4 separate regions of the Homo sapiens genome follow, and regions 1, 3 and 4 are each linked to region 2. The links are contacts of gene promoters, found by promoter capture Hi-C in blood cells and fetal thymus (Javierre and others, 2016). All regions are on one chromosome and are shown on one strand. Each heading gives the region's core, a stretch centred on a gene start or on the middle of the fragment in contact. The rest is flanking DNA. Distances are from core to core; before and after follow the strand shown.

Region 1 (6,427 bases), core at 1,726-4,225, 2.9 Mb before region 2:
AGATGGAACTTTCCCCTTTGCAAGATTTTTAATTCTTTTCCCTTCCATTCATACAGAGAACTGGTCACATAGAGAACTGGATTCAATAAAAGGCTCATTTTGGATTTTATAAAATCAAACCCTAAACTCTTTACAGAATCGAAGTATTAATAAGTACTTATAATAACAATCAAGTCATTATCAAACATGTACCAGATATATATCAGAGCTCCTGGTACCAAGAGCATACTATATTAGTGATCATATACTGTAACTTGAGTAGTATCTAGGGATGTGCTGGTAGTATTTAACCTCCAGCTCTCTGGGGGAAAACAGGATTTTGCAGCATTTGCTGAGGTGTAAATACTCTCACCATAACAATCTCAAGATGCCAAGCAGACGTCACTGGATGCAAAACTGGAAAGAGATGCACACAACTGGCTCTCTCAAGCTGAGGTGAGGTAGCTCCAGCACACCAACTTTTTCTATTGGACCTAATAATGGCAGAATAATTATTACCGGCAATAAATAATATACTTTAGGGAAAAATCATAACATTCAGAACTGCTTCACAATCTTACTCTGTGAGGATTATATGTGATTTTAGTTGGTTTGATAAGATGCATAGTTTACAGTGAAAGTTGGACATAGCCCTGACTATCAAAATTCTGGAAGCCCAAGCTCTTAATCACTGGGGTAAAGATTATAGGATGTTATTAAGTTGCTAAAACAAACTTGATTTGCTTACTTAAACATTTGGAGATTTTATATTTTTAAGGGTAAAAGAACCCTTTCAACCTTCTAACAGAATTTATAAGCAATTCAACGGAAGGAGAAATATTAGACTTTAAAAAGAAAACCACTGACTACATTCACATGTCTTTTTAGGAACCTGTCAAGAATACTTTGTCACACACATAGAACTGGATTCAATAAGAGCTTCATTTTGTTTTTTACAAAAATCAAAACCCAGAAGAGTTATAGAATCCATTTGGGTCACTTGGACAGAGTCGTTACTATGTTCACACCCGTCAATGCTCTTTGTCTTCTAAATACTGAACTTCAACACCAACTTGTGAATATTAAAAAACAATTCAGCATAAGTGAAATAATCAGATATATAAGAAGGCTCATGTTTTAAAATAGAGAAAAACTGGAAATAGCCCAAATGTTCAAAATAAAGGGAATGTCTAAATTATAGCATGTAAATTTCATACTGCAGGCAGCTACTAAAATATTCTTTGAAAAGAAATATCACAGGGGTTATGTGGGAGAAAAAAAGGAGTTAAAAGTTTATATATGCAGTGGGCTTCCAGTTTTGACTTAAAATGTCTATTTTATTCATGGAAAACAAGATGGGAGGAAAAACATTCAACTATTAAAAATGACTGAGTAGTGGCCCAGCGTGGTGGCTCAAGCCTGTCATCCCAACACTTTAGCAGGCCGAGGCGGGCGGACATTCTGAGGTCAGGAGTTCGAGACCAGCCTGGCCAACATGGCGAACCCGTCTCTACTAAAAATACAAAAATTAGCCAGATGTGGTGGCAGGCGCCTGTAATCCCAGCTACTCGGGAGGCTGAGGCAGAATGGCTTAAACCCAGGAGGTGGAGGTTGCAGTAAGCTGAGATCGCGTCACTGCACTCCAGCCTGGGTGATAGAGTGAGACTCTGTCTCCAAAATAATAATAATAATAGTAAGTAGTGAAATTGAGATTTTTTATCATTCTATTTTTCCAAACTTTCCAAATAGTCTACAAAGCTGTTTGTTAAGTAAAACCATTTAACATACCAAGAATTCTTGGAAAAGAATGTACACCTCAATTCTTTAACTTCCTTACATTTCTCAAAGGTCACCCATTTCATATTTTGCTGAAACTTGCTAGTTCCCACCAGCTAGAGCCTGTGTCCAGTCATGTTGTTCTACCTAACTTGGAGCAGCAAGGAGAGGGAGGAGCCTCCTTCCACCAGCAAGAACTCAGGTTGGGGTGGCAAATAGGCTTTCTCTTCCACAGCAATTTTTTCAGAAATTACATCTCAAACCTTTCAAAAACTAGACTGGCCTACAGAGCAGCCAATTAGTTTAAGTTTTAAGCCACATTATTGTCTGAGTATATTATTAAAAGTGCCAATTTTTAGATGGTTATATCAAATACAATAAAACACAGTCACAGAACTGCTTGGTGCAGTATATATAAGCCTGAATCATGAGAAAGTGATGTAAATCTGCCTTAGAATTCAAGCTTTTCAATTCTATCCCCGTTTTATATTTTCAATACTGTGATTAAACATTATACAAGATAATTAATTCTATTATCCTGGTTGCTTAACAATCTTTGGGATTGGCAGGTGTTTGGAGAAAGCTAATGTATCTCAATCGTTTGAGACTATGAATGTTGACAACAGGGATCCCAGCTATCATTGATTATGCTAGCATTTATTAGGGTGCCCGGTCATTACACTTATTCACTAACACAGCTGCAAAAATCCTACCAACAATACAAATGGCTCTGGGTTTTCTATAACCTGTGTCTGTTCTCTCATCAGTAAAATGGGAATAAAGCTGTTGGAGTTGCTGGGAGGACTAAAACAAATTTGGTGGAGTCAGGCACACAGCCAATCAAGTGTACTGTGGTTAAAATTAAATTTTTTTTTTTTTTTTGAGGAGTCTCACTGTCACTCAGGCTGGAGTGCAGTGGTGCAATCTCGGCTCAGTGCAACCTCTGCCTCACAGGTTCAAGCGATTCTTCTGCCTCATTCTCCTGATAGCTGGGATTACAGGTGCATGCCACCACTTCTGGCTAATTTTTGTTATTTTTAGTAGAGACGGGGTTTCACCATACTGGTCAGGCTGGTCTCGAACTCCTGACCTCCGGTGATCCACCTGCCTCAGCCTCCCAAAGTGCTGGGATTACAGGCGTGAGCCACCGCGCCTGGCGGTTAAATTCTTAAAAGGGAGTTCAACTGCCAGCTTTGCCACTTACTAGTTCTGTGACTCCTCTTCTGCAAAACACTAATTAAAAATTTTTTATACCAAGAACAAGTTAACTGGCAGTGGGGTACAGTAAAGGTGTTATGAAATCCCATTTTTTTTGCCTTTTACCTTAAGGGGTATTCTTATTTTTTAATTATTTTTTAGGCAGGGTCTTGCCAAGCTGCCCAGGGTGGTCTCCAACTCCTGTCCTCAAGTGATCCTCCTGCCTCAGCATCCCAAGTGTTGAGACTGGGACTATAGGGGTGAGCCACTGGGTCTGGCCTAAGAAAAGGTGTTTTTTTTTTGGAGACCGAGTCTCGCTCTGTCGCACAGGCGAGAGTACAGTGGCGCGATCTTGGCTTACTGCAACCTCTGCCTCCCGGGTTCAAGCAATCCTCTTGCCTCAGCCTCCCGAGTAACTGGGATTACAGACGCATACCACCACGCCCAGCTAGTTTTTTGTATTTTTAGTACAGACGGGGTTTCACCGTGCTAGACAGGATGGTCTCGATCTCCTGACCTCATGATCCGCCCGCCTTGGCCTCCCAAAGTACTGGGATTACAGGCATGAACCACGGCGTCCAGCCAGAAAAGCATGTTCTTATGTATAGCTAAGCGGTAACTCTCCTCTGCTTAAGTAGTTACATCATGCCAGTTAGTAGGTAAATTTTCCTCAACTGAGGAAAATAGTCAAAATTTACTGAACTCCCCAGGTACTTTCAGCTTCTGCATTCCATGATGGCTCAAGGTCTCTGCTCTCTACTCAGATTGGAATAAAGCTTGTTATGGCTTTAAGAGATGGTGTTGGCCGGGTGCAAGGGCTCACGCCTGTAATCTCAGCACTTTGGGAGGCCAAGGTGGGCGGATCACTTGAGATCAAGAGTTCAAGATGAACCTGGCCAATATGGCAAAACCCCATCTCTACTAAAAATACAAAAATTAGCCGGGTGTGGTGGTGGGCGCCTGTAATCCTCAGGAGGCTGAGGCAGAATTGCTTGAACCCAGGAGGTGGAGGTTGCAGTGAGCCGAAATCGAGCCAGTACGCTCCAGCCTGGGCAAGAGCAAGGCTCCATTTCAAAAAAAAAAAAAAAAAAAAAGGTTGTCAGCCAACAGGTTGGGCAGAAGAATGGCTCATGCCTGTAATCCTGGCACGCTGGGAGGCTGAGGCAGGCAGACTGCTTGAGCCCAGGAGTTTTGAGACCAGCCTAGGAACATGGTGAAACTGTTTCTCAAAAAACCAAAAATGAGCCAGGCATGGTGGTGCCTACCTGTAGTCCCAGCTACTTGGGAGGCTGAGGCAGAGAATCACTTGAGTCCAGGAGGTGGAGGTTGCAGCAAGCCAAGATTGCACTCCAGGCTGGGCAGCAGGAGTGAAACCTTGTCTGAGCTGGCAGAAACACTACATAGTTCCCAAGAAAAATGAGGTCTGTATTTTAACATTCTGGCCTGGATAATAAATCCAATGTAGATCAGAAACTATACCCTTGACCCAAGGTTTTATATATAGTAGCTCACTCATTTGTTAAATAAGGAGTTCTGAGCTCTCCAAGATACCATTTTTGAACTGAAGTGACCTAAAAGAACAGAGGGTTTAAAAACAATCTTAAAAAGGTTCCATTCCAAGGAACTAGAATACCAAGGTTTCTATCCTATGAAACTTGCTGACGTAAAGGAGATACCATAGTAAGGATCAAAGGGATATTAAAGTTTCAAATAGAAGGGCCATTCCTCCCAAACCACCCTGAAGTCTCAGCCCACAAAGAGAAGGACATTATGCTCCAATGCAGCGGTAGAGCTGTCACCAAAAAAATTCTGGCCATCAGTGACCACCAACTGTTTCTTCAGAAAAAGTAACCCACTGGCTGGGTGCTGCGGCTCGCACCTTAACACCAGCACTTTGGGAGGCCGAGGTGGGCAGATCACCTGAGGTCGGGAGTTTGAGACCAGCCTGACCAACATGGAGAAACCTCGTCTCTACTAAAATATACAAAATTAGCCAGGCATGGTGGCACATGCCTATAATCCCAGCTACTTGGGAGGCTGAGGCAGGAGAATCACTTGAACCTGGAAGGCAGAGGGTGCGGTGAGCCGAGATCCTGCCATTGTACTCCAGCCTAGGCAACAAGAGAGAAACTCCGTCTCAAAAAAACCAAACCAAACCAAAAACAAACAAACAACAAACAAAACAAGAAAAAGTAATCTGCTAAAAACTATAGGGTCCCCAAATACCATACAGAAACAAAATCTGTATACTAACACATTACAACAGAAAAAAAAAAAGTCATACATACAGCGTCTTTTCATTTTTATTACTCAAAAAAGTTTCATTTTTTTATTTAGCTTTCTGACTCTGTGCTTGTGCCTTCAACACTTTCACAACGATTTTCTGCTCCTCGATAAGGAAAGCACGCTTGATCCTAGAAAGGAAAATACCAAATTAATCATTTCTTTAAAATGAACTTCATTTTTTATTTAGCACAGAGAAGGCAAACATGGTAAAGAACCAAGCAAAGCAATCAGGGAACCCAGGAAACTACAGGATACACAAATACAGAGTAAAACTTAAAAGGTGAAATTCATTTAAAGCAGGATAATCCTTCAATTTCATGCCAGTAGTTATCTGTCCTCCTTCTGAGTCAAGATAAACTATGAAGTCATCCCCACAGGAGACCACTTATGAGAGCTCTAATTTATTGTTAGGATCCAGGAATAGTGGTATTTCTTGATTTGCAAAATGTCTTAGAATATTTTAACCATATTTTTGAAAATTCCCAGTAAAAAACAACACATAAGGGGCTATGTGTTAAGAACTAAAATTAAAAGGTAAAGGGATATTAGCAAGAGACACCTCACCAAGAGCAAGGATTTTAGAACCTGTTTACGGCCAACTCCACCACACACTAGCTGCACACTGGACAAGTTACCTTCTCTATATTAAGGCACAAAATAGTTTCACACGTATTTAACAGGGAGTTTATGAGGATTAAATTTGGAAAGATTTTCTAGACTTTGAGCCTCCATCTAGGAGTGCATTTTATGGATCACTATCATTACAGTGTTGCACAGGACCTAGCAAAAAGCAGGTCTTCCTAGCATTTGTTAAATCAGAGTTACCACCAGAGTTTAAAGCACTCCTCTTGCTTCAACTTAAACCTTCCCCCACCCCATTTCCCATTGGTAAACCTGGTTATCAAACCCTACCCTCAAAACTCTGGGTTTTCTAATTTCTTCAAATCTCCCCCATGTGATCCTATCAGAGACACATACAACTGAATCACTTAAAAATTCCCTTAACTTACTCAAAGCACAGACCACATGCAGACCTGCTCAGCATCACAGCTAACAATGCTAATTTCTAGGCTATCCTGTAAACCTAAATTCAAATCTTCAGGAGATAAGGCCCGAGAATTTGTATTTTTAATAAATGTGCCCATCTGATTTTGTGTTCAGCAAAGTTTTAGAACCAAAGACTGGGGGA
Region 2 (6,443 bases), core at 3,886-6,385:
ATGAAGACCAAAAAGTGCATAACTGCTGCAAATGATTAACCTGTGTTTTGTTTTTTGTTTTTTCAAATAAGTTATCTTTGTGACTACAATTTGATAGGAGCTCAACAAATGTTAGGTAAATAAAGTTTTAAATATTACATACATTTTATTGTCCACCTACTATGTGCTAAGCACACAGAACATGTGCATTACTTCTAATGCTCACAATCCTTAAAAGTATTTTATTTCCATTATAGAGATGAGAATTGTACATCAGTCCAAAAGTATTAATTAAATTCATAAAAGATCTTATTTAGAGACATTTAAGAATAGGTATTGTTCTAATATAACAGTACTATTTATAAATAAAATTTCATAAATTGAAGCAATTTTACCAAAGTGAAAATTGTCAGATATTATGTTATTCTAAGCAAGTATGCTGGTTTCAGTAATCCTTGATATAAACTTCCATTCCAAAGGCTGGGTTATTTGACAAGTTTCTGCACTGGATTAAATTCTTTGGCAATTCTTTCCTGATTCCTTTCATTGGCTACTCTGCAGATGTCTCAGTGACCCACAGCTCAGTGTTTTGCTCTCTGCTCAATCCACACTCCATCCTTCGAATACTGGCTTTCAAACTTTTGAGCATGCCACACAATTAGGTATATATTTTATAATGTAACACACAATACACTGAATAAAATAGAAACAAAAATGTCATGAAGCAATACTTATCCTACAATATGGGATAAATCTGATATTTTTTACTCTGTGCTTGTTTTTTTAAATGCTGGTTGTTACTCATTACATTGATTTCCTGACTCATTAATGGGGCACAACTCACAATATGACAGCACTGTTCTGGGTGATCTCCAGTGCCATAGCTTTAAATATGATCTGACTCTTACATGTATATCCCAGCCGTATCTTCTCCTCTAACTCCAGACTACTATATTCTACTTGACATCTCCATGTGGATGTTTTTCTAAACCTGCTCCCCTTCCCTTCGTGTTCTACTTCCTGGTAAAATGGCAACACCAATTACCCAGATGCTTAGGCCAAAAACTCAAAAGTCCCACTCAACTTCTTTTTTTCTCTCTCTCATACCCTGCCATCTCTACCTTTGAAGTATATGCTAAATCCAACTCCTCAGCACCTCTACCACTACCACCTTAATCTAAGTCATCGCCAGTGCTTACAAGGACTACTGCAAAAGCCTATTAACTATTTTCCTCCACTTTCCATAAAACAGTCCATTCTCCAACAACAGGGTGATCCTTAAAAACATAAATCAGATGTCTCGTGCTCAAAACCATCCAATGGCTCTTCAGCACACTCAAAATAAAATCCAAATTTCCTATTATGGCCTATAGGCCTACTGTGACCCTAGCTATCCCTTTCTGACCTCATCTCTTATCCTTCTTCACTCCCTTCCAGCCATAGCTGTCCTTGCTGTTTTTGGAAGGTGCCACTTGAGAATATTTGTACTTGCTATTGCTTTGCCTAGAATGCTTTTCTCCAAGAGATTCACAGGGCTTGCTCCCTCATTTCATTGATTTTTCTGCATAAATATTAACTCAGAACAGCCTCTCCTGACTGCCTGAATTGAAAAAGCACACCCTAGCCTCTTACCTAGCTTCCCTTTTTCTTCATAGCTCTTATCACCTAACACTATAACATCTCCAGTGCTTAATGAACTGAAACTTTAGTTCAAGGAATGAATGTACATATATGAATGTCAGAAATCACTGTCTGAGAGTATTATTAATAACTTTAGTCTTGGTACAATGTGTATCTCATTCTTCATGACACCATTCTTTCTTTTCCAAATTAATAACTCTATTTTAAGGACCAACTAAGTATAAATTAAAATGAAGAAATAAGATCACCTTTGTGAGGTGAATCGGGAAAAGTATAAATGGAATCTAACCAAACTCATAAATAAAGCAAGCACAGAAGTTTTTATGTATACTTATATCCAGGGCAAAGGAACTAAGAATCTTAACTAGATTCCATACATGTGCCTAGCAAGAATATTTATAAAACAAGAATTATAAAGTAATAGATTAGAGCCGAGACTGTTGAGCCAGACCACCTGGGTGCAAATATACTGGTTCTGATTCTTAGTAGCTATAAAAAACTTTTCTGCATATCTGTTTCCTCACTTATATAATAAAATGGAGACAATAATAACTGTACCTACCATGTAGTGTGCCATACAGAAAAAAGCTTGTCACATATTAAGTCCTTAAATAAATACTAGCTACTATTATTTCTTTATAATTTATAACCAAATTCCTTATCAACTGGCACTATTAAAATATGCAAACCTTGATGGGCAAAACCCAAATTATGGTTTATATTTTCAAGCTTCTTTCCATGAAAGGTAAAGGATTTATATTGATTGAAAAGTTTTTCCCAACCAAATACTGAAAAAAAACATATTTGTTACTGAGGCTGAAAGCCAGGGAATCATGAAATGGTAAAATATAAACGTGAAACCCTTAATCCATGTGCATATCAACCTATTGTACAAAATAAGAAGTTCAACACAGTTTATAAGTATGAAAAATCACAAACACTTACTTTTCTTAAAGATTAAAATTTAAACCTGCCTAAATTCTCTCCTACATCATATGTTCAACATTTTGAATTTTATAACTTATCTTGTGTTTTATGCTTTTCATAAAACAACAGTATTTGGCTGAAAATTGTACCCTATTTTATTACAATAATATAGATTTAACCAAAACAAAACAAAACAAAAAAACATGCCCCTCAACAGATAGATAGCAGCCAATTACCTTAAATATTTAGGGTCAAAAACGATAAGAAAAACACTGAGATTTTTTCAAGCTCATTAAATACGTAATATGGGATGCAGTTAAGTCCTAGAGAACAAAAGCCAGTGATTAAAATTAGCTGTTTTCTTATCTGGTAAAGAAGTAGGAAAAGTTTTTAAGTGAAAAGCTTACAGTAACCTTAGCCACAAACGAAGTGTGTAATCTCTCTGGAGAATCAGGGAATCATCTGTTGCCATGGAGTCATAATGCCTTCAGCTAAACCCGACCTCATAATTAACAGTGATCGACAGCGCAAATGGCTAACATGTTACCAAGTATGAAATAAAATTACTGAATTTTCACAGCAAACAATACCTGTGCTTGTTTTAATCTAAATGGTTTCAATATCTGCATTCCAAGTATTTATTCTTTGTTAGAAAAGCTAATTGGATACTCAGTATTTATTTTTATTTAAAAATCACAGATGATGAAACAAAAGCTACAAGTAAAACAAGTTTAAAAAAACAAAAACAGGCCGGGCGCGGTGGCTCACGCCTGTAATCCCACCACTTTGGGAAGCCGAGGCGGGCGGATCATTTGAGGTCAGGAGTTTGAGACCAGCCTGGCCAACATGGTGAAACCCCTCCTCGACTGAAAAAAAAAAAAAAAAAAAAGGAGCCGAGTGTGATTGTGGGCGCCTGTAATCCCAACTACTCGGGAGGCTGAGGCAGGAGAATTGCTTGAGCCCGGGAGGCGGATGTTGCCATTGCAATCCATCCCCAGGCGACAGAGCAGGACTCCAGCTCAAAAAAAAAAAAAAAAAAAAAAATTGATGGGCCCACTACTACAGAAGCTCAAGTTTGAGCTGTGTTTAAATTAAAGCAAAAACACGTAGAAGTGCAAAGTATATAAAATAAAAAGAAATGATGATTCTCAAATCTCATTGACCTTTTCAGTCTTATTTTTGAAGTGAGACCTCACAAAACGATACTTTCAGGTGTAATACAAACACAATTTTTAGTAATGAGTGTGCTTAAAGCAATCCTCTCAGTGGTGTATGCTCCCCATCAGGCAGTTAAAAAAAAAGAAAAAAAAACCCGCATAGCTTAATGTTTATTAAATATGACAGCGAATCACTTAGTTGTGTTATAACAGTTTATTATCATGGATTTAAATGACTATGTTTACATGTTTAAAATTATCACATCACTAGTTCTTGCTAGCTTTTGCATTTTCTCCTGTAAACATTGTTTTTACAGATAAGCTTAGGTAAAATAGAAATACACCACCTTCTTTATCAATAATGTAGCACACAATATATTACTAAAGCTGGCATTTTCTTGATATTCAAGAATTTATGACAAGGAATGGGATCCTGGCATTAAGAATAAAGGGGAAAAAAACAAGTCATCTCATCCCAAAACCAGGTAGAAAGTTGGGATGGGAAGTACGTGTATTAGCAAACGTTTTTGAAACCAAAGCAACTTTCATGCAAATTAAACTTTCTATAGAAGTTAAAAACCCAAGAGATACTGCTGTGATGACAAAACATAAGCAAATGGCCCCAAATGAAGCAAGTCCTTTGGAGTAAATGTTAAGTAGTATTCACATAGAACTGCTTTCTGCAATCAGGAAGGGCTGGAATGGAAAACTCAATGCCAAAGAGAGAAGAGAAGTTAGTGTGACCCAAGAGGTCTTGAAGTAACACTTAACAGCAAATATCAAACCACCCCAACCAACGCCTCCAACTGGAAGCTGCCCCATTTCTCCATCAGCAGAGGAAGACATGAGGGACTGGCTAGGGGGAAACTGGGAAACGCGTACTACCGAGAAGCCCAGAGCCCTCAACCCGCACCTTCAGCAGGAGTGGCCAAAAAGGAGTTTGAGGCGGCCCCAGGGCGGGAGAAAAATCAGGACGATGATACCACGCCCTTGTCCTTCCCACCCTTCCCCCGCATCCTCAGCCCTGCAGACCCCCGAAGAAAAGACCAGTTCTTAGGGGGTCGCGGAGGCTGAGAAGCCGGCGGCCCGAGCGCCCTCTTTACCTGGTCGCAGAGGCGCGGCCAGGCAGGGAGGGTGCGTGAGCGTGTCGGCGACCTGGGCCGCCTGCGCCTTCCCGCCCAGTCCGAGCTGGAATTCCAAGGCTGCCTCTGGGAGCTGCTGCCCGCAGACCACTCGCCTCCACAGACGCCAGGAGAAAAACGACAGCCACCTTATGTGGAAAATACTCGCGCCGGCCGTCATTCATAATCCGGCGGACCGGAAAAAGGGAAGTAACGTCACTTCCTACTGTCGCACTGCCAAACGTTTCCCCCGCCCCTACTGTGGGAACCTTTGTTTTCCTGCTTTCGGAGCCGGCCAGTGCGGGAACCGTTTCCGAAGGGACCACCGGGAACAGACGGATCGGCAGGGCGGGGCGGAACGGTGAGTTATGCTGAGCGACTCTGCTCCTGGCCTCCTGGAGGCTCGAGACCCCCGCGCCAGGAGCGAGGTGGGAGAGTAGCTACGTGGGGTATTAGTTTCCTCGCTCCTCAAGGGGAATCATAATTTACGGGCGGTTGCGTGCCCTAGACTGACTGCTCTCCCCTTTCAGTGAGGACTGTGCTTCCTCCGAGGGAGTTGCGGGCCGGGACATGCGGACCGAGCATATTTCTAGGTCTAGGGACAAGGGACTTGGAATCCTGCCTCGGACTTTGTCGGAGGGTTTTAGTGACTTCTCTACGTAGCTCCCTCATTGTCTCTCATCTTTTGGCTCCCCTGTCAAGGACCATCCCCCATTCTAGGACTTCGATGTGTGATGCTTTGATCAAAGGATTGACATTCCTTTTCTAAGTGTTTGCTGTCAGCTTTCAGCCACTTGATTGGTTTGGAATCGGAGCCTTTTCTCCTGCGATTCCAGGTGTCCCTAAGGTATCAGTGTTATCCAGAACCAAGAACTCAGTGGAGGAATGAAAAAGGCAGCATCTTTAAAATAATGTTTATTGGAAGGGGTTGCAAGAGCTTGCGAAGTCATGAAGAACAAAGTTTTTTAGAGCCATTATGAAATGGCAACGATAATACTGCACTCTATGTGAACAGTTTCTGTTTCCTTCATCTGGGGCACGTGCATATGATCAACTTTGGACTTCTTTTGAGATTGCCAGGTAGGGTGAAAAATGGATCTAGGAGAAAGCACATACTTATATTTATATATGAATGCCCAATTTAGACTGGAGAGATCACAGAAGCCTTATAAGGTGACATTTACGCAAAAAACCTAGTTCGTTCATTCGATAAATATTTTTGAGCCCTTATTAAGTTTCAAGCACTAGGGAAATAACAGTGAACAAAACAAGTTCCTGCTGTCATCAAGTTTACAGACCAGTGGGATTAATGAATTAAGCAAGACAGGCGAAAGATTGTGAGAATTTTACAGATAGGAACATTGTACTACAAGTCCCCAGTCGTGAAAGAGGTGATTGCTTTGCTTTTGCTTTTTTGATGTTTGGAGTTTTTTTTGTGGGGGCAGGGGTGAGTTACTTTTGTGATTTTTGCTGAAGGGACCTTGGAAATGGCTACAATTGTGTAGAAGGAGAGATAAGACCACTATACTTTGATCACTTAATTCCAGTAATTCTATAGCCATTATTTTGTTGTACTTTGCAAAGTGGCAAAGAGATAGGCAAAAAGATAAATATAGAC
Region 3 (7,399 bases), core at 1,333-3,832, 2.2 Mb before region 2:
ATGTAAACTGGTGCACTCACTGTAAAATAGTATGATGGTTCTTCAAAAAATTAAACCTAGAATTACCACATGATCAAGTAACTCCTAGGGACTCAGATATTTGCCCCCTTCTATTTATAGCAGCATTATTCACAATAGCCCAAAGTTGGAGGCACAAGTGTCTATCAATGGATGAATGGGTAAACAAAATGTGGTATATACAGTCGACCCTCCACATTTATGGGTTCCACATCTGTTGGTTCCACCAACCGCAGATCAAAAAAACACATCTGTACTGAATGTGTAGACTTTTTTTCTTGTCATTCCTTAAACAATACTGTATAACAACTATTTACAAAGCATTTACATTGTAGTAGGTATTATAAATAATCTAGAGATGATTTAAAGTATCCAAGAGGATATGCATAGGCTATATGCAAATACTACACCATTTTATATCAGGGACTTGAGCATCCTAGGGTTTTGTTATTCGCAGGAGGTCCTGGAAGGAATCCCCTACAGATAAGGAGGGATGATTGTACATATGATGGAATATTAGTCTTCAAAAGAAAATTTTCACATATGCCACAACATGGATGAACACTAAGACATTATCTAAGGATTTTAAATGAGTAGGGATAAAGATCATAATACTTTAAATGCCCCACTGAAAAACAAATGTCACAGTTCACACCTCATCCACTACATGCCTTCGTAATACTGCTTCTACCTAAAATTCTCTTCTGAGCTCATGGGTGCCTGGAGAAAACCTACCTGCTTTTCTTTTCTTTTTTAAAAATTGTGGTGAAATACATATAAAATTTACCATCTTAACCATTTTTAAGTGCACACCTTAATGGCATTAGGTACTGTCACACTGTTGTGCAACCATTGCTACCATCCATCCATAGAACTTTTTTCATCTTGCAAAACTGAGACTTTCTGTCCCTATGAATTTCACTACGCTAGGAGGCACCTCATATAAGTGGATCATACAATATTTGTCTTTTCCGTTTAAAATCCTGATGCAAAACTCTGGCTTTATCAGATTCTGAAAAGCCTAGATCTTTCTTTGCCATGTTATAGGGGCAGGAAATAGCATTCATTTAATAGATACTTGAACTCCTACTATGTTTCAGACAGCAATGACTCTGTCCTCCTAGATGTCAGAACAGTGGTGAAGACTGACATCCAGGCCCAAGGTCATAAAGTTATGTAGCGTCAGTTTTGAAAAGTGTAGTGAAGGAAAAGTGCTTGGGCAAGGGACCTGGTTCTAACAAGGGAGGCTACCCTACTTGCAGAGGCTGTGAGAAAAGGCTTCCCCAAGGAAAAGGCATTTAACACCTGACTGATGCGTAGGAGTGACTCAGAAAAGAAGTCAGAGACCTAAGCCAGCCAGTAAGACAAAGGGGGACGGTAGAGACAGGTTAGATTGGACATTTTATTGCAGCAGATAACACGTTTTCCAACCCCCAAAAATGTCCAATTTAGACTCCCATACGCAGGAATCAGAGGCTATGAACCAAAGCCGGAGATTTGGTAATAGGCTTCTTCTGTGTTTTCTGGACTTTTTATCTTATTGGAAATTATCTTCTTAAATTCTTACATTCGAAACCCACAAGGTAAAAAGAATATCCTTCCCTCTTTCTAACATGGGGGCCAAAGTTTCTCTCCGAGGTCACAGCTGGTGGAAGGGAAGGCTACTTTTGGAAAGATGGAACCTGGCTTGCCACCTTGTCCTTCCGCCATCCCTATTACTCTCCCTCAATCTCCGGATGACTTTTCTACTTATGATCTTGGAGTATGAGCAAGTCACGCGTCCGTCACTACTTGATGGGATCTTAAAGGCATCAGAAAGGAGAAGCGCCGCCACCACCATCACCTGTTAGTTCAGGATGCAGGTGTGAGGCAGCCTGGGGGCGCGGGCGGCCGGAAGGGGCACAGGAACTGCAGCCCCCACGCACCTGGAGACTCATCCGCGGCATCCGCGTACCCACAGCCCACGACCTCCCGCTCACCCTTCTCCTTGGTCACGATGGAGATGAGCGGCACCCGCGGGCGGTCGCTGAAGACCTCGGCCTGCTGCACCAGCGCCTCGCGCACGCTGTGGAAGTCGCTGAGGACCACCACCAGGTAGTGGCCGATAAAGAAGCTGAAGATGCTGCCGTACACGCGGGCTAGGTGAGCCAGGAGCACCTGCGGGCCTATGACCGAGGGATCAATCCCTGCGGCCCTGGTCCTGCTGCTCAGCCAGCTCCGCCGCCGGAGGAAGGGAGGCAGCAGCACGTGACCGAAGTTGCCCACCAGAGGCCAGGGCGTGGGCCCGGGCGGGATGCCCCGCGCCCGGCGCCTCCGCAGCCAGCTCCAGCCCAGCAGCGCTACGAGGCCGCATAGCAGCAGCGCGCCCCCGCTGGGGTCCAGCCGCAGCAGCCCCAGAGGCGCACGCAGGAGGCGCGCGGGCCAGGGCGGGTCCTCGGCCGGCGGCTGCGACGGCCCCGGAGACGACATGGTCCGGGCGCCGGCGGCCTCGGGTTCCCCTTGCTGCCTGGAGGAGACGCGCACGCAGCTGCCTGACCCGCGGCGCCAGTGTCCTGCTCTGCTCTGGAAGGTCGGGGGCGGGCAGGGGGTGTAGGAACGCCCCCGGATTGGCTGCGCCGCGCGCATTCTCCCCGCCGCCGCCACTCAGCGACGCCTGGGCGGAACCTGGAGGCGCGCCGGCTGCCTGGCGGAGGGGGTTGGCGGGCTAGCAGGCGGGGGACCTGAAGTTTGCCCCGAAGTCCGGTTACGACCCTTTGCAGGGTCGGGCTTGGCGGTGACTGTCCCTGAAACTGGGATGCTGGCAACACAACCTTGCGCTCTGATTGGCTGTTGGTTTCCCTTGTGTCATTCGTTTGTCATTATCACTCGTTTGTCAGTTGACAAACACAAACGCATGGTTATGAAGTGCATAAACCGTGTTAGGATCTGTACTGAGTGTGGGAAACTGGTGAACAGGCCCGTGAGATGGGTCGGCCTTAGCACCTGTGCCCTGAGCTGGGAGAATGGGGTCAACGCCCTATTCCTGCATGCTTCGGTGTAGTAGTGAAAAGACGGGGTTCCTTATCTAAACTGGGATTCGCAGCACCCTTTCCTCCACGCAGAGACAGCAGGATGCTGGGAAGCCGTGGAATGCAGAATCTGTGGGTGTCGGCTTGGCAGCCAACTCTGCGGAAGGGATGATGGCGGGAGTGGGGGGAGCGAGGGGCGGGCAGCGAGGCACGAGGAGTCACGTTCTGAGAGCTTGCCCTGGGCTAGAAAACTTATGCGGAGAGCGAAAGCTGTGTCCATTCCTGCGTGTGGCCTGGGTGCATTAGAAAATGTACTTAAATCCAGAAATAGCGAAACCAGAATTTGCTTGGTGGATTTAAGTAGCTAGAAATATGAAAAGAAGATAACCGGTTGAGGGAGGGGTGGCAATATTATTATTGGTGTTAGACAACACTTGAAAGGCTGAGGTTGAAATATTAGATATGAATTGTATAATACTTTAAAAACAAAGTATTACTTTATTTTATCTTCTCAGATAATGGCTTTCCTGATAAGGGCTTCCCTTTCAGTCTTGTTTAGGCCAAATCCTGTAGTTTCTGTTCAAGTTGGATTGAGCATAGAATTGTCTGTACTGGGCCATTTTTCTAGCCGTTTCATTTTTCTCCATACATTAAAAGTTTGAACACCACGCTGTACCTATAAAAATGTGATCAAAGAAAGCATAGTGAGTCCTCAAATAAATACATGATCCATTTTATTTTTCTATAAACAAGTGATGCCAGTAGGATATGTTAAATTTCAAGTCCACTCTGTTCTCATATTCTTTTTGACATGCTTTTCATGTTATTTTAAGCTTATGCACCCCAAACAAAAAAAAAAAACCTCCACACCTCTCATCTTCTATAATTAACCACTACTTGTGAGATTACTTTTCTCATTTTTTTTGAATTTTTGAATTAAGAGAAGTTTTTAAAAATTTAAACTACTTGTTTGCAGATACGATCTTCAACATGACATTCTGGATGTCATCTGATTCTAGGGCTTTGCTCTCTGAAACAGTAGCCACTATATACATCATCCCATACAAGCAATTTAAATTCATAAATGATTTTAAAATAGTTGAAGCTGTGACTAATTTAACAACTCCAACAGCCACCCTTTTATATTGTACAGGATGTAACTGCACGTGTAGTGTTTTCCTAAATCTCTCATTTTCACTAGGTTAATAGCTGTGCGGGGCAGATAGGAAATCTGGGCTGAATTCAGCCTCTCCTCACCACTATATGTTGAAGTCCTAACCCCCAGTGCCTCAGAATAAGACTGTATTTGGAGAAAGGGCCTTTAAAGAGGTAATTAAGCTAAAATGGAGTCCTGTGGATGGGCTCTTACCAATATGACTGGTGTCTGAAGAGGAGATAAGGACACAGAGAGGAAAGAGGATGTGAGGACACAGTCAGAAGGCAGCCATCTACAAGTCAGGAGAGAGGTCTCAGAAGAAATCAACCCTGCTGACACCTTGAGTTTTGACTTCTAGTCTCCAGAACGGTGAGGATATAAATATAAATTTCTGTTGTTTAAAACATCCAGTCTGTAGTACTTTGTTATGGCTGCCCTAGCAAACGAATACAGGAAGGGATATTGTTCATAATATTATGGATACACTTTTATTTTATTATTATTATTTTTTGCGATGGAATCTCGCTCTTTCGCCCATGCTGGAATGCAGTGGTGTGATCTCGGCTCACTGCAACCTCCGCCTCCCAGGTTCATGCGATTCTCCTGTCTCAGCCTCCCAGTAGCTGGGATTACAGGCCCGCACCACCACGCCCGGCAAATTTTGTATTTGTAGTAGAGACAGGGTTTCACCCTGTTGGCCAGGCTGGTCTAGGACTTCTGACCTCAGGTAATCTGCCTGCTTCAGTCTCCCAAAGTGCTGGGATTACAGACGAGAGCCACCATGCCCAGCTGGATGCACTATTTTAAACATGAAACCACACAGCTCATTCAGTGCTCCTTAAGGATGAATTTCCCCAAATTACATTCAGGGCGATTTTGCCACATAAAGGAATACTTTCTGCTTCATCTCTCTTATTTTATATAGGTAAAAAAATAATAGCAGAAGCAGTAAAGGAAGAGAATACTAAGAGATCTTTTGGGTGGGCAGAAGTGGTAAGAAAGATAGAGGATTATGGGAAAAAATCATTTTTATTGAGACCCTAAAGATAATTTTAAACCACCCACTTTCCTACCTATATCCTTGTTCGACATGGATTTTGGCCGGAATTGTTGGTCACAGTATATCCAAAATAGCTGAGTACTTATTTTGTTATAAAGAGTGGTATTAAATTACTCTATTTGTAAAACTACAATTGTTCAGTTGGTTTGTAATTCTCTGGGAGGTAAATGCCACCACACACGACACCCATCCAGAATCAATGAGCATGAACAGAGAGAGTGCATGGCTTAAGAAGGGTTTGCAAAATGCTAATGAAAAGAGAAAGTAGAAATGTTATTAGCACTATTTAGTTGCACAACTCCACTGGCCATTTAAAAATTAACACCTTTGTTCCCTTTAAGTTCTTATGATTTGCTTCATATATATTCCGTTGAGTGTCTTCTATATATGTGTTTATGTACTCTCTGAGCCTCCATGTTCCTGAACTGAAATTGGGATGATAAATATACCTATACCAAGCATAGGGATTAAATAAAATAATTAAATAATAATAATTAAATAATAGCACAATGTCTAGCAACTAGTACTCAATACATAAAAGCTGTAATTATAATAGTTATCACTGGGTTCTTGATAATAGTTTAAACTTAATAGGTTGTCACTATTGCTGCCTCTTATTCACACCTTGCAGATTTACCAGCTTTTTCCAATATTAGAATGTGAGACTTGCCAGGATATTGTTTCCTATATTTAGCCTTTATGTCTTGTATAATGAATAAATAAACGTGCCTATCTTCAGTATTACTTCATTCCTCTCCACTTGCATGTATTATGTATGATTTACTTGGAGAAGAGATGACGGGAGAAAGGCCCCTGAAAAAAATCTAAAACAGTGTAAGGCAGAATCTCAAAAGTCACAAAATCCAATTCCGAAAACATCCCTTTATTTGGTCAAGGTGGTGCCAGGATTAGGACACATTTTTTATTTAACACCAAAATGAACACAATCCAGATGTCCTTCAACAAAAGAGGGGGGCAGGGGAAGGGGAAACTATGGTATACTTATTTGATAGCTCACTACACCACAATAAAAATCAATCAGTTATGACACACTCTACAGTGTGGATAAATATCAAAAAACATGCCAAGTGAAAAAGCCAGGCACAAGAATACATACTAAATAGCTGCATTTATATGAAGTCTGGAACAAACAAAGTGAACCTATGGTGATAGACATTAGAACAGGGTGGATTGTTTGGAAAGGGAAATTGAAAATTTTTTCTAGGGTGGTAGAAATGTTCTATATCTTGACTGAAGTGTTGGTTACTTGGATGTATGCACTTGTCAAAACTTAACTGTGCATTTCACTATAGGTAAATTATACCTCAGTAAAACAATTTTTTTAAAAAAGCCAGTATCTTGGCGAAAAAGACATGGTGAAGTAAGAAGACTTAGCAGGTTTAATTTATGAGATGAATCTATTGTGAGGTGGGTACCCACAGGAACAGTTAGTCACTTTAGTTAGCCTGGCCACAATTGTTACTGATTCCTGACATTTTATTTTTGTGTACGCCAAAGCGTTGCTGAATTCTCTGTTCCTTATTTCTTCCTCATTTACTTCCATTTACTATGCAGAAATCATCGTGGAAACCACATGGGGACCTCTGTCCAAATCTAACTGGGTTGGCCAGGCTATGCTGTTAACATTTCTGATTTGTTTTCTTCATCTGGTCAAAAGAGAGAGTTATAACACAAGGACTCTTAGATTCCTCTGGTCTCTAACATTCTTCTTAAGTGGATTCTTAGGACTTTGACTTTGGCCTCTGATTAACAGCATGCTTAGTCAATAAAATCTGAAAGAATAAATTATATTTACATGGCAAAGTGTAAGCCAGTTACTTCAATAAAACTAACACAAGGGGGTTGGGCACGGTGGCCCATGCCTGTAATCCCAGTACTTTGGGAGGCCGAGGCAGGCAGATCACTGGAGGTCAGGAGTTCGAGACCAGCCTGGCAAACATGGTGAAACTCCGTCTCTACTAAAAATACAAAAAAAAAAAAAAAATTAGCTGGGCGTGGTGGCACATGCCTGTAATCCCAGCTTCTTGGGAGGCTGAGGCAGGAGAACCGCTTGAACCCTGGAGGCGAAGGTTTCAGTCAACTGAGATCACACCACTGCATTCCACCCTGGGCAAGAAAGCAAGACTCTGTCTCAAA
Region 4 (6,434 bases), core at 2,798-5,297, 2.5 Mb after region 2:
CCTCCAAAGAAAGCTAGGTGTATTCTGTGTATCTTTCCAGAAATTATGCCAATAAGTATTTGAGTAATACTTAAGTAATAAGTAATTTTTAATTGAACGTTTACTCTATGCCAAGCATCTTTGTACACACAGGGGACAAGGAGTAAACAAAAACTATGTCACTCTAGTGGGAGGAGACATATATACATAAATTAATACTCATACACATATTATGTCTAAAAGTTACAAATAATCTTGTAACTAATTTAAGAAGAAGATTTAAGAAATAGAAGTAACATACAATGGAGTTGGTGTTTTATAGAGAGAGAGCTATGAGAGGGTGACATTTGAGTAAACACTGGAATCAATGGGAAGGAGGGAAACATGTATATCTGGAGTGAAAGCCTTCCATCCAGACACAGCAGCCAGTGCAAAGGTCTCAAGAGGGGGTTTGTCTGGGATTCAGGAAACTGCCCATGGCCCGTGTGGCTGGAGTGGGGAGAGCAAAGGGGAGGGACAGTGGTAGGAGGTAAGGCCAGAGCACAAACAAAGGGCAAGATCATGTGAGGCTTGGGAGACAACTGAAAGACGTTGGGTTTTGTTCTGAGAGAAATCAGAGGGTGGGGGTGAAGGTGTGGCACTGGGGGTCTTGAGAGAGGAGTGACATGATCTGACACATTTTCACAGAATCATTCAAATTGCTGTGTTGAGAACAGACTGGCAGTGGGGGTGGGCAAGGGTGGAAACACTGAGATTAGCTCAGTGCCAGATGATGATATTTCGGACCAGGTAGCTGAAGCGTAAGTTGTGACAAACTTTTCATAGTCTGAAATTTTCTCAAGGTGGCCCTGACAGAATTTTCAGGTGAGAAGCTGAGCAGCATGGCTCCAGAGTCTGCACCTGGATAACTGGAAGGATGGACTTGCCAACAACTGAGAAGCAGAAAACTGCTGATTGAGCAGATTTTGAGGGGAAGAGCATGAATTTGGTATTAGACATTTTAAGTTTGCCATATATATTAGACACTCAATATGGGAGGAATTAAGGCATATGTTTGCTGTTAAGACTGGTTTTCTAGAGCAGGAGAAAATGACAAGCAGGACAGAGAGTGAGAAGGAGAGGACTGTATCCAGTGCACACATGGAGAGTTTCCAGAGTGGAAAACACACAGATGTTTATAAAGTTACAGTCTGGAAGGCGAGTATGCAAGCACAAATGCACATAGTGAGTAGCCAGATTGACAGGAATTAGGGCAAAGTCTTTTCTGGAAGCTTCTATTTTCATAGTGAAATAAAGAGTGTCTTGTTTGAAGGAATTAATGAATCCCTTTTTACCCCCTTGCTTAAAACCCTCCATAGGCTTCCCCTCACCCTTGAGAATAAGATCCAAACATTTTATCACAGCCCACAAGGCCCCATGGGTCCTGGACCTGGACCTGCCTACCTCTCTCCATTGCCACAAATGCTTCAGTCACAGGGCCCTCCCCTTTGTGTCTCAGACAGATGACAAACTCGATCAAGCCTTGGCTTCTTTGACTTACTTGTTCCTCTGTCTGGTACGCCCTTTCTCTTGTCCTCCCAAGTCTGGCTCACTCTTCTCACATAGGTTTCACTTCAAAGGTCACCTCCTCAGGTCTTTCTTGAACATCTCATCTAAAATAAACCTTCCTCCCAACACATTATTTTACTATATATTTGTTATGTATTGTCTGCTGCTTCCCACAAGAATGTGTTTCATAAGAAACTAGCACTCTTAACCCACCTTATCACTCTCTCTCTGTCTCCTGATCCTATTAATCATTACATTATGTGTGTGTGTGTGTGTGTGTGTGTGTGTGTGTGTGTGTGTGTGTAGAGAGAGAGAGAGAGAGACTGAGATTTTTCTGTATTACCCATCTCCTCTAAGAGAATAGCAACTCTACAACAACAGGTACTGTGTCTATTCTATTTACTGTTGTGCTTCCTGACCTTAGAACCGTATCTGGCACATAACAGTTGTTCAATGAATATTTCTTGATGAACAATTTGGAAAGTCAGATGAAAAAATTGGATAGAGAGCATATAATAGAGAGCCTGGCATATAGTAAATCTTCAATAAATGTCACCTGCTGTGATGATAAAAAAAGACAGTCATAGCAACGATCATAAGCACAACTATGAAAGGCTGATGACTTCTCTTTACTCGTGAACCAATCTCCTCTTGTCTCATTAGAAATTTTGATTAATCACATCTCCCTTCTTCTTCATAGGTTCCTTGCCTTCAGCTGTCTCATATTTGCCCACAATTAAAACAAAAACAACAGTTAAAATATACCTTCCTTAACTCTGTATTTTCTTACTAGATACAACCAAGTATCTTTACAGTCTAGCAATAAAAAAGAGTTGTTTATACTACCTCACAGCTAGTTAACCAAAACAAATCTTGAATGAATAGACTCATTTTTCTTTACTGTTCTTATCTATAAACTAGTTTCTTTAAATTGAAAGAAACTACTTTCATCTAACTCAGTCTACCATCTAACTCAGTCCTCACTCTGCAAGGAAATTAGGCATATTCTGTGTATCTTTCCAAAAATTATGTATGTATATCCAGACATATTCTGTGTACATAACCGTGCACCTTGAATTTCTCTTAATAAATGAAACATCTTGGATAGCTTTCTAAAGTACACATAAAAAGCTAGGCCAGGCACGATGGCTCATGCTTGTAATCCCAGCACTTTGGGAGGCCAAGGCAAGGAGGATTGCTTGAGCCTAGGAGTTCAAGACCTGCCTAGGCAACACTGTGAGACCCCACTCCCTACCCTAATCCCCCCACCACCCCGTCTCTACAAAAAAATTTAAAAATTATCTGGGCTTGTGATGTGCCTGTAATCCAAGCTACTCAGGAGGTTAAGGTGGGAACCCCACTTGGGCTGAGGCCAGGAGTTGAGCCTGCAGTGAGCTGTGTTCAGCCTACTGCACTCTAGCCTAGGTGACAAAGCAAGAACTCATGTTTATTTAAAAAAAAAAAAAAAAAAAAAAGAGAGAGAGAGAAGAAAGGGAAAATAAGCATTATTTTTGGGAAAAAATCACTGTATTTAGAATAGCTTTCCCTCTTAGTTAATAAAAGTAACAAACCAGGCCAGGAGCGGTGGCTCACGCCTTTAATCCCAGCACTTTTGGAGACCGAGGCAAGTGGATCACCTGAGGTCAGGACTTTGAGACCAGCCTTGCCAACATGGCGAAGCCCCGTCTCTACTAAAAATACAAAAATTACCTGGGCGTGGTGGCGGGCACCTTGTAATCCCAGCTACTGGGGAGGCTGAGGCAGGAGAATCACTTGAATGCAGGAGGTGGAGGCTGCAATGAGCAGAGATAAGCACCACTGCACTCCAGCCTGGGGTGACAGAGCGAGACTCCGTTTCCAAAAAAAAGAAGAAAAAAAAAGTATCAACCCATTACTCAATGAGTTTTTCAGTCCTCGGTATTTATTTTCCCTAATTCAACCTCTGAGGAAGCCACAGCTAATGGAAACGAGTTACAGAGAGAGAGAAACAGGAGAAAAGCCTAAACTCAGATTTTCTAAGGCGCACAACAGGCTTGTCACGTTTCTGGACTGGACAGCGAATTTCAACTCTTGCTGTTGAAAGTTTATTTTAAACTGTTGGTGCAGTTTCTTTAAAAGACGGCAATTCTGTTTGGGTAGTGAAAAATACATGTATCTCTACCTAGTTTCGTCTACAGGTTCCAAACTTTTTAAGGATGGGGTGGAGGATGACGTTCGCTAGCTTTTGGCAGATAATAGTATTCTGGTATTCCAGGACCACCACTCTCTGCCCACTCCTGGGAGCCCCTCCCTTCGGCCCTCTCCTCCGACTCTCTGCTGGGCCCTTTAAATCCCCTCTCCTGTTTAGCAGTGGTCACGCCGCCCGCCTTGCGTCCCCCGCGCTGCTCCGCACGTGGAATGGCCCATGACGTCACGAGGCCACGGCTCAATCAGATGCGGCGTTTGGGAAATTTTAAATTTAAAGGCGGGGCGGCCTGTGAGCCCTGAAGTGCCGGCCGCGGAGGGTCCTGGCCATTTTCCTGGGACCAGTTCAGCCTGATAGGATGGCGGAGGAAGGAGCCGTGGCCGTCTGCGTGCGAGTGCGGCCGCTGAACAGCAGGTAGGGGGGCCACACCACGGCCCGGTGCCCGCTGGGCCTGCGGCGCCGCCCTGAGCCGGAGGGGCGAGGCCTACGATGTTTCCAGGAGCCGCTGCTTCCCGGCTCTGCTGTCTAGTGACTCGGCTGCTGGCCATCGTTTCAGGGTCTGTAAAGTGACAGGGGAGGATCGGAGATCTAGAAGATACTTTCCAGCTGCGAGATTCACTTAAATTTAACTCAGTCTCGCTGACATACAGACCTTCCCTTCTGTGCTGCTCTGCCTTGCGGCATCTGCTCCTCCCTGCCCCATTCCCCGCCTAGAGAAGTCGTATGGGACCGTGCCTTCCTGGCCCTCATCACAGTTAGTCATTTTACACCTAACTGCTGTCTCCAGACCCTCTGAAGACAAGGGCTAGTCTGTCTTGTCACATTACATTCAATCGTCACTCAAGATCATTCTACAAATATTTATCAATTTTTTTTTAGTGACTTTGTACAACACAGACACTCCCGTCATTGCCCAGTGGCTCTTCCATTCTAATGGGACGAGACAGAAAGTAAAGTTGAAAATGTAGGATGTTAAGTGGTGATATGTAGGTAATAAGTGCTAGGGAGAAAAAGCAGGAAGAGGAATAAATGAAATCGGTTTGCTTCACTAGCTTCTGGCCCTCGACCCGAAATGCTAACACTTTGTGTGTGTGAGAAATTTTTATTGAACACGGGGTTTAATAAATGCAAATACCAAGATCAGGAATTTCCTATTTTTGAGGAGCTCATTATCTAATGCCTTAAACGGCTACATAAAGAAACCATTAGGATACCTTTTGACAAGTGTTATGATGGGCAGGTAGAGAATGTTTGCTAGAGGAGTTATTAGCCCATCAGAGACGAAAGCTTCCCGTGGGGTGAACTGGTGTCAGAAAAGTCTTGACGCTTTTCATGAGTGAAATAATCCCTATGTTACTTAATGGAAAGGGAAGTCAGAGTATTCCAGGCACAGAGAGGTTACATCTGTCATTTGGGGAAGACCTTCAGGTAGAGCTTAGGATGTATCTAGGAATTCAGAGGAAAATGGAAGAGAGAAATGACATGATCTAGGACTCGTGCCCTGCTGAGGATTTCATAAGTTTCCAAAAGGTTTTAAGAATTTTAAGCAAGACAGACATAATCAGAGTTGCATTTTGAATCCATCCCTTTGTTTACCAGTACTGGGGGAGAGGGTGAGAATGAAAGCCTTCACAAGAAAACACTTTTGAGGCGGCAGAAGGTCACTGAAGCTCCATTTAAGAGTTGAATCCTCAAAGATGGACTTTCTGTCATTCTCTTATGTTACTATCTTTCAAAATATTCTTTAGCAGGTGAAATCTTTTCAATTATTCCTCCTATGACATGACTTTTATGACTGGTTAAAATGCGGTGTTTTTATTCTTTTAGAGAAGAATCACTTGGAGAAACTGCCCAAGTTTACTGGAAAACTGACAATAATGTCATTTATCAAGTTGATGGAAGTAAATCCTTCAATTTTGGTAAGCTTATAATAGCATCAAAAGTTACCTTGTTATCCTTTTGCTATTAAAAGTACAAAAGGCTTATCAATAATATTAGATTTGTCACTAAAGATTAGACTAAGCCTTCTATAAACTGCTTCACTGGAAACAAAATTGTTTATCCATCATGTATTTAAGTAAGGTAACCAATTGGCATTTAAAACAGTTATAATCACAGTTATCTAATTTGCATCTAGGTAGATTCCAGACCCCCATGTGCAAACACTATACCTTATTGCCTCTTGAAAGAACATAGAAAAGTTGACTTGTAGTGTATTTTTTGTGTGTGAAAATGAACTCATTTTACCTTAGGGAAGGGTATTTTCAGAGAACCAAAAAGTTGAAAAAAATACTGTGTCTTAAATAGTTGATCATCCTACATTCTGACAGTTTTACTTTTGGGAATAATTACTAATTTGGAATGAAAACACAGTGGACTCATTTGATTTAACTTCTGTGTTGTTGTTGTTGTTGTTGTTGTTTAGATCGTGTCTTTCATGGTAATGAAACTACCAAAAATGTGTATGAAGAAATAGCAGCACCAATCATCGATTCTGCCATACAAGGCTACAATGGTTTGTATTCACTCAATGCTGCAGAAACATTTTAGTCTTGGGCGTCTGTGCAACAAGCATGCATAGTTTTACCCATTATAGGTTTGTTTTTAATCTTTGCGTATGTGTGTTTTGTTTTTTGCAGGTACTATATTTGCCTATGGACAGACTGCTTCAGGAAAAACATATACCATGATGGGTTCAGAAGATCATTTGGGAGTTATACCC

The links. Contacts are between HindIII fragments. The CHiCAGO score rates a contact against its expected background, and 5 or more counts as called.
Region 1: a fragment that was not itself captured here is called in contact with the fragment with the promoter of INTS12 in region 2 in 1 of 17 cell types (monocytes); the score reaches 5.8 in monocytes.
Region 3: the fragment with the promoter of CYP2U1 here is called in contact with the fragment with the promoter of INTS12 in region 2 in 1 of 17 cell types (total B cells); the score reaches 7.9 in total B cells.
Region 4: a contact is called between the fragment with the promoter of CENPE here and the fragment with the promoter of INTS12 in region 2, in 1 of 17 cell types (naive CD8 T cells). The highest score is 5.4, in naive CD8 T cells.

Annotation. Positions count from the first base shown.
Region 1 is chr4:108,624,067-108,630,493 of GRCh38, reverse strand. It overlaps RPL34 (ribosomal protein L34), which reads right to left. Exons shown (of 5, transcript NM_001319236.2): 5 at 5,124-5,366. The coding sequence ends at 5,282. Among named protein-coding and RNA genes, the nearest start is that of RPL34, 6.7 kb to the right of the region's middle. The HindIII fragment of the contact is 1,510 bases long and covers 2,221-3,730 here.
Region 2 is chr4:105,707,381-105,713,823 of GRCh38, reverse strand. INTS12 (integrator complex subunit 12) reads left to right here and starts at 5,135. Exons shown (of 8, transcript NM_020395.4): 1 at 5,135-5,186. It overlaps GSTCD (glutathione S-transferase C-terminal domain containing), which reads right to left and starts at 5,040. Exons shown (of 12, transcript NM_001370181.1): 1 at 4,808-5,040. It overlaps LOC124900747 (a long non-coding RNA gene), which reads right to left. Exons shown (of 2, transcript XR_007058214.1): 2 at 5,728-5,923. RefSeq lists an enhancer at 4,811-5,060. The HindIII fragment of the contact is 4,662 bases long and covers 4,029-6,443 here.
Region 3 is chr4:107,926,732-107,934,130 of GRCh38, reverse strand. CYP2U1 (cytochrome P450 family 2 subfamily U member 1) reads right to left here and starts at 2,582. Exons shown (of 5, transcript NM_183075.3): 1 at 1,998-2,582. The coding sequence starts at 2,487. CYP2U1-AS1 (CYP2U1 and SGMS2 antisense RNA 1) reads left to right here and starts at 2,012. Exons shown (of 7, transcript NR_125929.1): 1 at 2,012-2,160. All of the region lies in intron 1 of LOC107986298 (a long non-coding RNA gene), which reads left to right. It overlaps LOC124900751 (a long non-coding RNA gene), which reads left to right and starts at 2,546. Exons shown (of 2, transcript XR_007058221.1): 1 at 2,546-3,158; 2 at 4,228-5,986. RefSeq lists enhancers at 1,845-1,914, 1,975-2,044, 2,705-3,212 and a silencer at 2,255-2,844. The HindIII fragment of the contact is 6,450 bases long and covers 1-3,861 here.
Region 4 is chr4:103,195,956-103,202,389 of GRCh38, reverse strand. CENPE (centromere protein E) reads left to right here and starts at 4,047. Exons shown (of 49, transcript NM_001813.3): 1 at 4,047-4,126; 2 at 5,540-5,631; 3 at 6,138-6,227; 4 at 6,352-6,434. The coding sequence starts at 4,071. RefSeq lists an enhancer at 3,631-4,185. The HindIII fragment of the contact is 3,749 bases long and covers 1,253-5,001 here.